2 separate regions of the Homo sapiens genome follow, and region 2 is linked to region 1. Evidence: promoter capture Hi-C in human tissues and cell types (Jung and others, 2019). All regions are on one chromosome and are shown on one strand. Each heading gives the region's core, a stretch centred on a gene start or on the middle of the fragment in contact. The rest is flanking DNA. Distances are from core to core; before and after follow the strand shown. Region 1 holds the start of ARC (activity regulated cytoskeleton associated protein). Region 2 overlaps THEM6 (thioesterase superfamily member 6).

Region 1 (4,410 bases), core at 1,179-3,678:
GGTCTCGGCTTGGCCACTTCTGGCTTGCTGTTTAGCAGGTGACAGGGGTGGTGATGGGCCACGGGGCATTGAGCAGAGGACGCCAGGATTCCTCACCAAGGGCCTGGCTCCTGCCCAGCCCTGCCTTGCTCACCGGGCCACCTTGGGCACTCACCCTTCTCCAGGCCTGGCTCCCTCCACACAGGTGAGGGAACTGAGGCAGCGGCACCACCTATGACCTTGGCTCACGTGTCCCCAGTCCTGCCTCCTTGTCAGCTTGCTGATGCCTTGGGTGGGGGTGGCAGCTGGAGGCCACTGCTGGCCAGAGGCCTAAGAGCTGTGCCCTGGCGGGGACGTCAGAGGCCACACGGGCTTGTAAACCCTGGCGGGGCTGGCCCCTGGTCATTGAAGTGCTGGCTCTCACAATGGACACACATGCACGGTCAGTGCCCAGCACCCAGACAACACCTACAGGCTCAGGCTGGCCCCAACCCGGACATGTGGCCCTCGGTGACCGCTGGCTGCACTCACCCAAGGCTGCTGGCGTCTGCCCGTCCCGCATGTGCCCACCCAGCTCCTCTCCCTGGGATTCCGCAGTGGAGAAGCGGGAAGGTCCCTGTGCTGGAGACTTCTCTGCCTGGCTCCCCCTCCCAGCTCCGCGGTGCCCCTCCGCCCTCCCTTCTCTGTCCGCCCACTTACCTTTAATTAGAAATGCCAGGAGAGCCATTTTTGGGGAGTTTTTTTGCCAGAAAGACATTCCCCCCCAGGGGCGGAAGGAAGGAGGAGACAGACTGGCTCTGAGGCTGGGAGAGGGCTCCCCGGGAGAGCCGGTTGGGGGGGGGCTCAGAGGGTTGGCAGGGAGGGGGGATTCCAGCAAGTGGGCACCTGTGTGCCCTTGAGTGCCTGAATAAGACAGGGGATGCTGGGGGGAGCTGAGGGCTGTGAGTGGGGGGTATGAGTGTGTATGTGGGAGCTATGAGTGGGGGGTATGAGTGTGTATGTGGGAGCTATGAGTGGGGGGTATGAGTGTGTGTGGGGGCTGTGAGTGAGGGCATGAGTGTGTGGGGTGGGGTTAGAGTGGGGGCTATGAGTGTGTATGTGGGGGTGTGAGTGTGCAGCATGTGTGTGTCTGAGAGAGGGAAAGGGCAGCTGGCAGCAGGAACAAGATGTCTTGATTGTCAGCGATGATGTCCTCATGGCCCTCTGGCTGTGGGGAATGGTGTGTGTCACCCCTGCCTGGGTAACATCAGAGGACCTGAGACCCATGCCTATCCAGCCAGCACTGGAGTAACTCAGGAAGGGCGTCCCTACCCCCGCCAGGTTGCCAGGGAGGCAGAAGGGACCTCCCTCCCGAGGGAGTCTCGGCTTCCGGAGCCCCGCTCCTTATATGGTGCTTGGCTTCCCTCTGCCTCTCCTGATGGCACTGTGCTGCCAGCACCGGCCCCCCTCCCTCTCCCTCCTCGCCTCTCCTCCCTCCCCTTCTCCTTTCCCTCCTTCCACCTCCCTCCCTGTCTCCCTCTCTCCTCCCCTCTTCCATCCCCTTAGAAGTCTTGGAGCCTCTGGCCAGGTTCTTGATATAGCCAGGGTCTTCAGGGCCCAATTCCCTTCACTGGGGGCTAAATGTCCCCTCCATGTCCTCCAAACCCCAGCCCCCCAGGTAGCAGCTGCCAGATTTCCCTGGAAACACAGAAAAGTATTGGGCCTCACCAGAGACCTGCGTATGGGGGCATGGGGCAGCCCTGTCCAGTCACTGCCACGTGGGCCCCTGTCACCCATGCACACCAACGCCAGGGCCAGGCAGAGCGAGCCTCTGCCTGGCTGTGCGTCCCTCACACAGAGCCCAAGACCTGGACTCAGGACCCGGGCAGGAGTGAGTGGGAGCTCAAAGCCACATCTGGGAGCTCACATGGAGACTTGCTGAGCCCCTGGGCACAGAGGCTGATGGTGAGGGTCCTTCCCGGGCTCAGCTGCACATCCTGCAGAGCTGGGTGGGCGGGGTCAGGGGCAGTGAGGACCCAGGAGAGCAGTGGCCAGCGCCAGCCCCCTCCAGCCCCGCAAAGAGAGAGGCGAGTGGAGAGGAGGAAGGCCACCTTGGGACCCTGGGAGGCAGCAGATGACAGCCCGCCCAGCGCCCGGGAGGGGGCGTGGGAGGGGCGCCCAGTGCCCGGCTCAGTCCCTCGGTCCCCGCAGGCTGAATGAGCCCCGCCGTCCGGGGTGGGAGGTACGGAGCGGAGGGATTAGTCATCCTGGCCCCGCCATGTGTGCAGGGGGTGGGACCTCCCGTCCCTTGCCGCCCGGGAGCCGAGTGGGCGCAGGGCGGGGCCTGCAGGGGCGCGGGCGGGGCGCTGGCGGGGAGCCTGCGGCTGGGCCAATGAGAAACCGGGCTCGGCGAGCCGGCCGCCCACGGGCCTCGCTGGCTGCATAAAGAGCCGGCGGCCAGGACTCAGCGCAGAGCTCGGGCGCGGCGTCCTCCCTCCGCAGCAGCCGAGCCGGACCTGCCTCCCCGGGCGTGCTCCGCCGGCCCCGCCGCCGGCCCGCAGCGACAGACAGGCGCTCCCCGCAGCTCCGCACGGGACCCAGGCCGCCGGACCCCAGCGCCGGACCACCCTCTGTCCGCCCCGAGGAGTTTGCCGCCTGCCGGAGCACCTGCGCACAGATGGAGCTGGACCACCGGACCAGCGGCGGGCTCCACGCCTACCCCGGGCCGCGGGGCGGGCAGGTGGCCAAGCCCAACGTGATCCTGCAGATCGGGAAGTGCCGGGCCGAGATGCTGGAGCACGTGCGGCGGACGCACCGGCACCTGCTGGCCGAGGTGTCCAAGCAGGTGGAGCGCGAGCTGAAGGGGCTGCACCGGTCGGTCGGGAAGCTGGAGAGCAACCTGGACGGCTACGTGCCCACGAGCGACTCGCAGCGCTGGAAGAAGTCCATCAAGGCCTGCCTGTGCCGCTGCCAGGAGACCATCGCCAACCTGGAGCGCTGGGTCAAGCGCGAGATGCACGTGTGGCGCGAGGTGTTCTACCGCCTGGAGCGCTGGGCCGACCGCCTGGAGTCCACGGGCGGCAAGTACCCGGTGGGCAGCGAGTCAGCCCGCCACACCGTTTCCGTGGGCGTGGGGGGTCCCGAGAGCTACTGCCACGAGGCAGACGGCTACGACTACACCGTCAGCCCCTACGCCATCACCCCGCCCCCAGCCGCTGGCGAGCTGCCCGGGCAGGAGCCCGCCGAGGCCCAGCAGTACCAGCCGTGGGTCCCCGGCGAGGACGGGCAGCCCAGCCCCGGCGTGGACACGCAGATCTTCGAGGACCCTCGAGAGTTCCTGAGCCACCTAGAGGAGTACTTGCGGCAGGTGGGCGGCTCTGAGGAGTACTGGCTGTCCCAGATCCAGAATCACATGAACGGGCCGGCCAAGAAGTGGTGGGAGTTCAAGCAGGGCTCCGTGAAGAACTGGGTGGAGTTCAAGAAGGAGTTCCTGCAGTACAGCGAGGGCACGCTGTCCCGAGAGGCCATCCAGCGCGAGCTGGACCTGCCGCAGAAGCAGGGCGAGCCGCTGGACCAGTTCCTGTGGCGCAAGCGGGACCTGTACCAGACGCTCTACGTGGACGCGGACGAGGAGGAGATCATCCAGTACGTGGTGGGCACCCTGCAGCCCAAGCTCAAGCGTTTCCTGCGCCACCCCCTGCCCAAGACCCTGGAGCAGCTCATCCAGAGGGGCATGGAGGTGCAGGATGACCTGGAGCAGGCGGCCGAGCCGGCCGGCCCCCACCTCCCGGTGGAGGATGAGGCGGAGACCCTCACGCCCGCCCCCAACAGCGAGTCCGTGGCCAGTGACCGGACCCAGCCCGAGTAGAGGGCATCCCGGAGCCCCCAGCCTGCCCACTACATCCAGCCTGTGGCTTTGCCCACCAGGACTTTTGAGCTGGGGCTGACTCCTGCAGGGGAAGCCCTGGTCCAGCTGGGTGCCCCCTCGAGCTCCGGGCGGACTCGCACACACTCGTGTCATCCAGATGTGAGCACCGCACCCAGCGGCAAAGAGCCCTCCCCCCTGCAGGGCTCCACCCATCACCCTCCCTCCGTCTGTCTTTCCGGCCTGGACCCCACCCTCCACACTCTCAGGCCATCACAGAACACCCCAGCTTCCTCATTCTGCTACAACACCCAGGCCCTCTGGACATCCAGAAAACCAAGTGTCCGGATGGCAGGGGCCAGCGGCCACCAAGCTCATGGGACACCCAGAGCAGAAGCTAGGGCAGAGCCAATGCTGAGGGAGCCTCGACTTCCGGCGCCGCCGCCCTCTCCCGGCATCCGCAGAGCCAGCTGACGCCCTCCCTGCCTCCCAGGGCAGCTGGCCAGCCTCGGGCAGCGCGGCCCCCTCCTCCCAGGGGAGAGTAGAAGTCGCACACGCAGCAGAGCAGACCTGATGTCCCGGTGCTT
Region 2 (4,194 bases), core at 148-2,647, 120 kb before region 1:
GCAGAGCTGGGTCAGGATGCCAATGCCACTCCTCCTTCTGCCTAGCGTGGAGCCCAGCACAGAGGGGTATCAATAACTGGGGGGGCCCAGTGGGTGGAGCAGGGTGGGCCAGGCTGGTCAGGAGGCTACTCCAGCTGGAACAGAGTATGGCTGAGACTGCCCATCTGTGGGCAGCCCCCAGGCCCAGGATGGTGGCCAGGGCAGACGGTGTGAAGGTGGCGGTCACTGGTCCTTGGTGACATCACTGAGCCCACTCTCCATGCGGAGCAGCTGGCTGCTGGCCTCGTTGTAGGAGATCCAGTGCTGCAGATCAGCGGGCAGCTCAGGGGGCTCCACCTGCAGAGGACAGAAAGGGGACACCCAGCTAAGCTACGGCCTTCCCACCTCTGGGCCGCTGCCCACACTGCTCCCCAGCCCGTGACCTTCCAAGATCCCCTGCCCCGCCGCCTGCCATGCTTTGCCCATGCCTCCCCAGGCTCTGCACACTTGTGCTACCCCTGCATACCCACCTTGACACAGCCCCGCTTGTGCCTGGCCCGTCTCCCCTAGGGGCCATCCCCAGAACCCAGCCAGAAACCCGTGAAGTTGGCAGGTTGGGAAGGGCAGAGAGGAAATCCAGAGGCCTCAGGGTGACAGGGGACAGAGGGGTGGAGGGCCAGCATGGGAGCCCTCCTCCAGGAAAGTACCAGACAGGGCTCACTGAGTTCTCTTCTTTCTCCAGGGCACCCAGAGGATGGCACTTCATCCCCCAGGGCAGCCTGGGCCTGACCACTCCACTATCAACCCTCTCCACACACACAGCCACCATGTGGCAATGGGAGCCAGGCTCCAGGCCACTCCTGAGGGGTCCACAGCCTTGCAGATGGGCATTGGGAGCTCCCAGGATGAGGGGACAGGCCAGGCACAGGCCCACCCCCACTTCAGGGTGAGCAGCACACAGAGGTGCTCAGAGATAAAGCCCAGACCTTCCCTGCAGATGAGTCGTGACCCCCATGGCAAGTCCCAGCAGAGCTGGGCCTGGACTCTCCCCTGGACCACTCCCCTCCCCACCTAGTTTCAACCATGTGACCAACACTCACCCCAGCCCAGCTCTTCCTCTTTGGCCACATCACCGCAGGCCAGCCTCTCAACATGCAAGACCCAACCCTGGCTCAGCCTGCCCAAACTGCAGCCGCGGTCTTTCCACATCATCGACAGAGTCTCTGCTGTTCTGGGTCCCAGCCTTCACCTCCCACAGGGACCTCACCAACCAGCCCATGCCTGATTTTATCACTCCCTCTTTCCCAGAAAAGCAACCCTGGCTCCCCATCTCCTCGGCCTCCGTGCCCGGCTCTCAGCCTTGGTGGCCTTTGCCTCTGGACTCTAGATGCATGAAAGACATAGAGTCCAGCACCTGGGGACAGAGAGAGATCTAGGCCTTTTAGGGGGTTCCTGACTGTAAACCAAAAATAACATCGGAAGGTACCCCCAACCATCTGAATGAACTTCCTCCAATAGGCCAGGGCCCTCCACATTTAACCAGAAAGACTAGCCCAGGCCATGATAGAAGAGGGTGTGGGACAGGCCTGTTATGCCCTCCAGCATTAACAACACAGACCTTAAGTCCGACAAGAAACATTTATGATCTATTCCCTCTGAAGCCTGCAGCCTGGAGGCTTCATCTGCATAATAAAACCTAGGTCTCCACAACCAGTATCTTAACCCAGACATGCCTTTCTACTGATAATAGCTCTTTCAACCAACTGCCAATCAGAAAACTTTTACATCTACCATGACCTGAAAGCCCCCCTTCCAGATGGCATCAATGTGAATCTTACATGTACTGACAGATGTATTGTGCCTCCCTGAGATGTATAAAAGCAAGCTGTGCCCCGACCACCTTGGGCACATGTTGTCAGGACTGGTGAGTCCTTATCCTTGGCAAAGTAAACTTTCTAAATTGACTGAGACATATCTCCGATACTTTTTGGTTCACATGACTCAACAGAAACAGAAGACCAGGGAGCCGTGTAGCTTTGTGCAGTGCCATAGCTCCTCTGAGCCTCAGTTTCCCCATTCCTGACATGACCTCTCAGTGTCAGAGGCGCTGGAACCAGAGCGACTCCATTTTGAGTGAGGGCTGGGAAATGAGGCTGGGGCCTGCTGGGCTGCATCCCCAGAAAGAGGCATTCCGAGCCTCTAGATGTTTAGTTGTAAAGTAGAGGTTCCTCTTCAAAGACTTTCCTACCGATCTAATTAGGAATAAATAGTAACTTCTCTTAGAAGCAAAATTTATTCAAAGACCTGTGCTAACATTATTAAATATCTGCTAGCAGTAATAAAGAAAGCAATGTACTACTTTAGGTTCTTAGCTCCCACAATTTAGCCTAAATATTTGCCCTGGCATGCTTATACTGGTCCAAGCGGGCATTAGGTCATAGCCTGTTCCTCTTCCTTATTTGAAGGTGTTTTTACCTTTCTCAGCATTCCACAAATTACTTCCTTCCTTTGTTCTCCTCTGCCTTTGCCTCTTTTAAAAAGTTGTACGTTGCTAGCCAATCGGGACAGATACAGAATGTGAGGTCCCATCCCAGTCAATGGAAACCAGAGACGGCAATAGGGTGGACGCGTCAGGTTATAAATGACCCTGTTTCCTTTGTTGGGTGAACTCTTGTGGCAAAGCTGATGGCAAGTGTGTCCTTTCTGCAGGAAGTAAAAATGTCCTTGCTGAGTAAATTAAATTTATGTTCAACTGCTGTTTCTTTACGGCACCGGGGAACAAGCATTTCAAACAATTTGGTGGCAATCCGTACAGGGCTACATTCTCCTGCGGGGGCGGTCTCTGTTCCTCTCTCATGAGGGAGCACGCTCCTCTGCCTCACTGCAGTGGCCTCAGGGATGAGAAATTGAGACCCACCTGGTGTGACGAATAAACCCGGACTCTCAGCAATGCAGAAAAAAAAAAAAAAAAGAAACTGGCCAGCAACCTAAGGTAAAGGATGCTCACATACCAGGGCTGCAACTCTGTGCACAGACCAAGGAAGGAGAAGCCACAGAAGCTGGTAAAGTACTTCCTTGGTGGTGAAATTCTGGAGGGCTGAATGTGTGTATGTGTGAATGATCACAGACAACCCTGCTTGCAGTGTGGTTTGTGTGGACGGTGACAAGTCCTCCTGCTGGACAGTGAGTGGGTCCCCTCCATGGTTCCGGTTCTGTAGTGACCTCATATGGCTTAGGGCAGGTCCTGCTGTGGGATTTATACCAGCACGCCTACACTAAGAGGGGCCTAATTCTCCCTTGGGGGGGCGACCAGAGAGGACAACACAAGTGGGAAGTATGCAAGGGACCTTTGGGGGGAAAGGAGGAAACAGGTCAACCTCCCAGGGCAGGCAAGGCAAGACACCCCTGGTTTGAGGGGTTAAGTCTTCCATTAATTTCAGGGGGTTGAACCTCACACAAACCTCCAGTAGTTAAAATATATATATATATATATATATATATATATATATATATATATATATTCAAAACTCCCTTTTCCCCTCTTCACAGGGAAAGAAAAAGGCTAAGCTTCACTCCCGCTGGTTGGTCCCCCAGGGGAAGGGGAAGGAGAGGGGGGAAAACAGCAGCATAGGTGGCTGGCAGAGACAAAGGAAAGACCAGCAGACAGGAAAAAGAACTAGGAGAGGAAGTCAGAAAAAAAGAAAGCAAAAACAGCAAGCACAGCGGCGCCAGGAAGAGAGCAGAGGAGGTGAGAGGGCATAATTCTTGCAATTTGTGGCAGGCATCTGCCAAGCCTCTGGGCTGCCGGGGCCGGACTGCAGCCATGCAAATCCCACCCAGCCCGAGAAACTAAGTGTAGGAAGAAAGGGGAAAAAAAGTAAAAAGGGGAATGGTGGGGGTGGATAGAGAAACTGACGGCAGTGCATGCCCAGGGGCTGGTGCCATTGCCCGGCCCTGCTGCTGCAGGAGCGGGAGAACTCAGGAGGGAAGAAGGAAGCAGGGGATGAAGAGAGTGAAGAGAGAGAAGAGACAGAAAGAGATTAAAATACAGAGGGAAAGAATAAGAGAGAAACTGGAAGAGACAGAAATCAAAGGAAGACATAGAGGGTGAAACTGAGAAAAAGAAATAGCGTAAAAGGCAGGCAGAAAGTTAAGACATGTTGAAGATTGTGAAAGTTGTAAGAAAAGCTATAAAAGGGAATTTATGCAAGAAAT

What was found. The method cuts DNA at HindIII sites, captures the fragments that hold promoters and counts their contacts. A contact is called where the count stands out against the background at its distance.
Region 2: a fragment that was not itself captured here is called in contact with the fragment with the promoter of ARC in region 1 in 2 of the 25 tissues and cell types used here (IMR-90 fibroblasts and dorsolateral prefrontal cortex).

What each region holds. Positions count from the first base shown.
Region 1 is chr8:142,612,497-142,616,906 of GRCh38, reverse strand. It overlaps ARC (activity regulated cytoskeleton associated protein), which reads left to right and starts at 2,428. Exons shown (of 3, transcript NM_015193.5): 1 at 2,428-4,410. The coding sequence starts at 2,636. The coding sequence ends at 3,826. RefSeq lists a silencer at 2,112-2,321 and an enhancer at 2,337-3,235. The HindIII fragment of the contact is 38,144 bases long and covers 1-4,410 here.
Region 2 is chr8:142,731,468-142,735,661 of GRCh38, reverse strand. It overlaps THEM6 (thioesterase superfamily member 6), which reads right to left. Exons shown (of 2, transcript NM_016647.3): 2 at 1-336. The coding sequence ends at 223. Among named protein-coding and RNA genes, the nearest start is that of THEM6, 6.3 kb to the right of the region's middle. The HindIII fragment of the contact is 7,269 bases long and covers 1-4,194 here.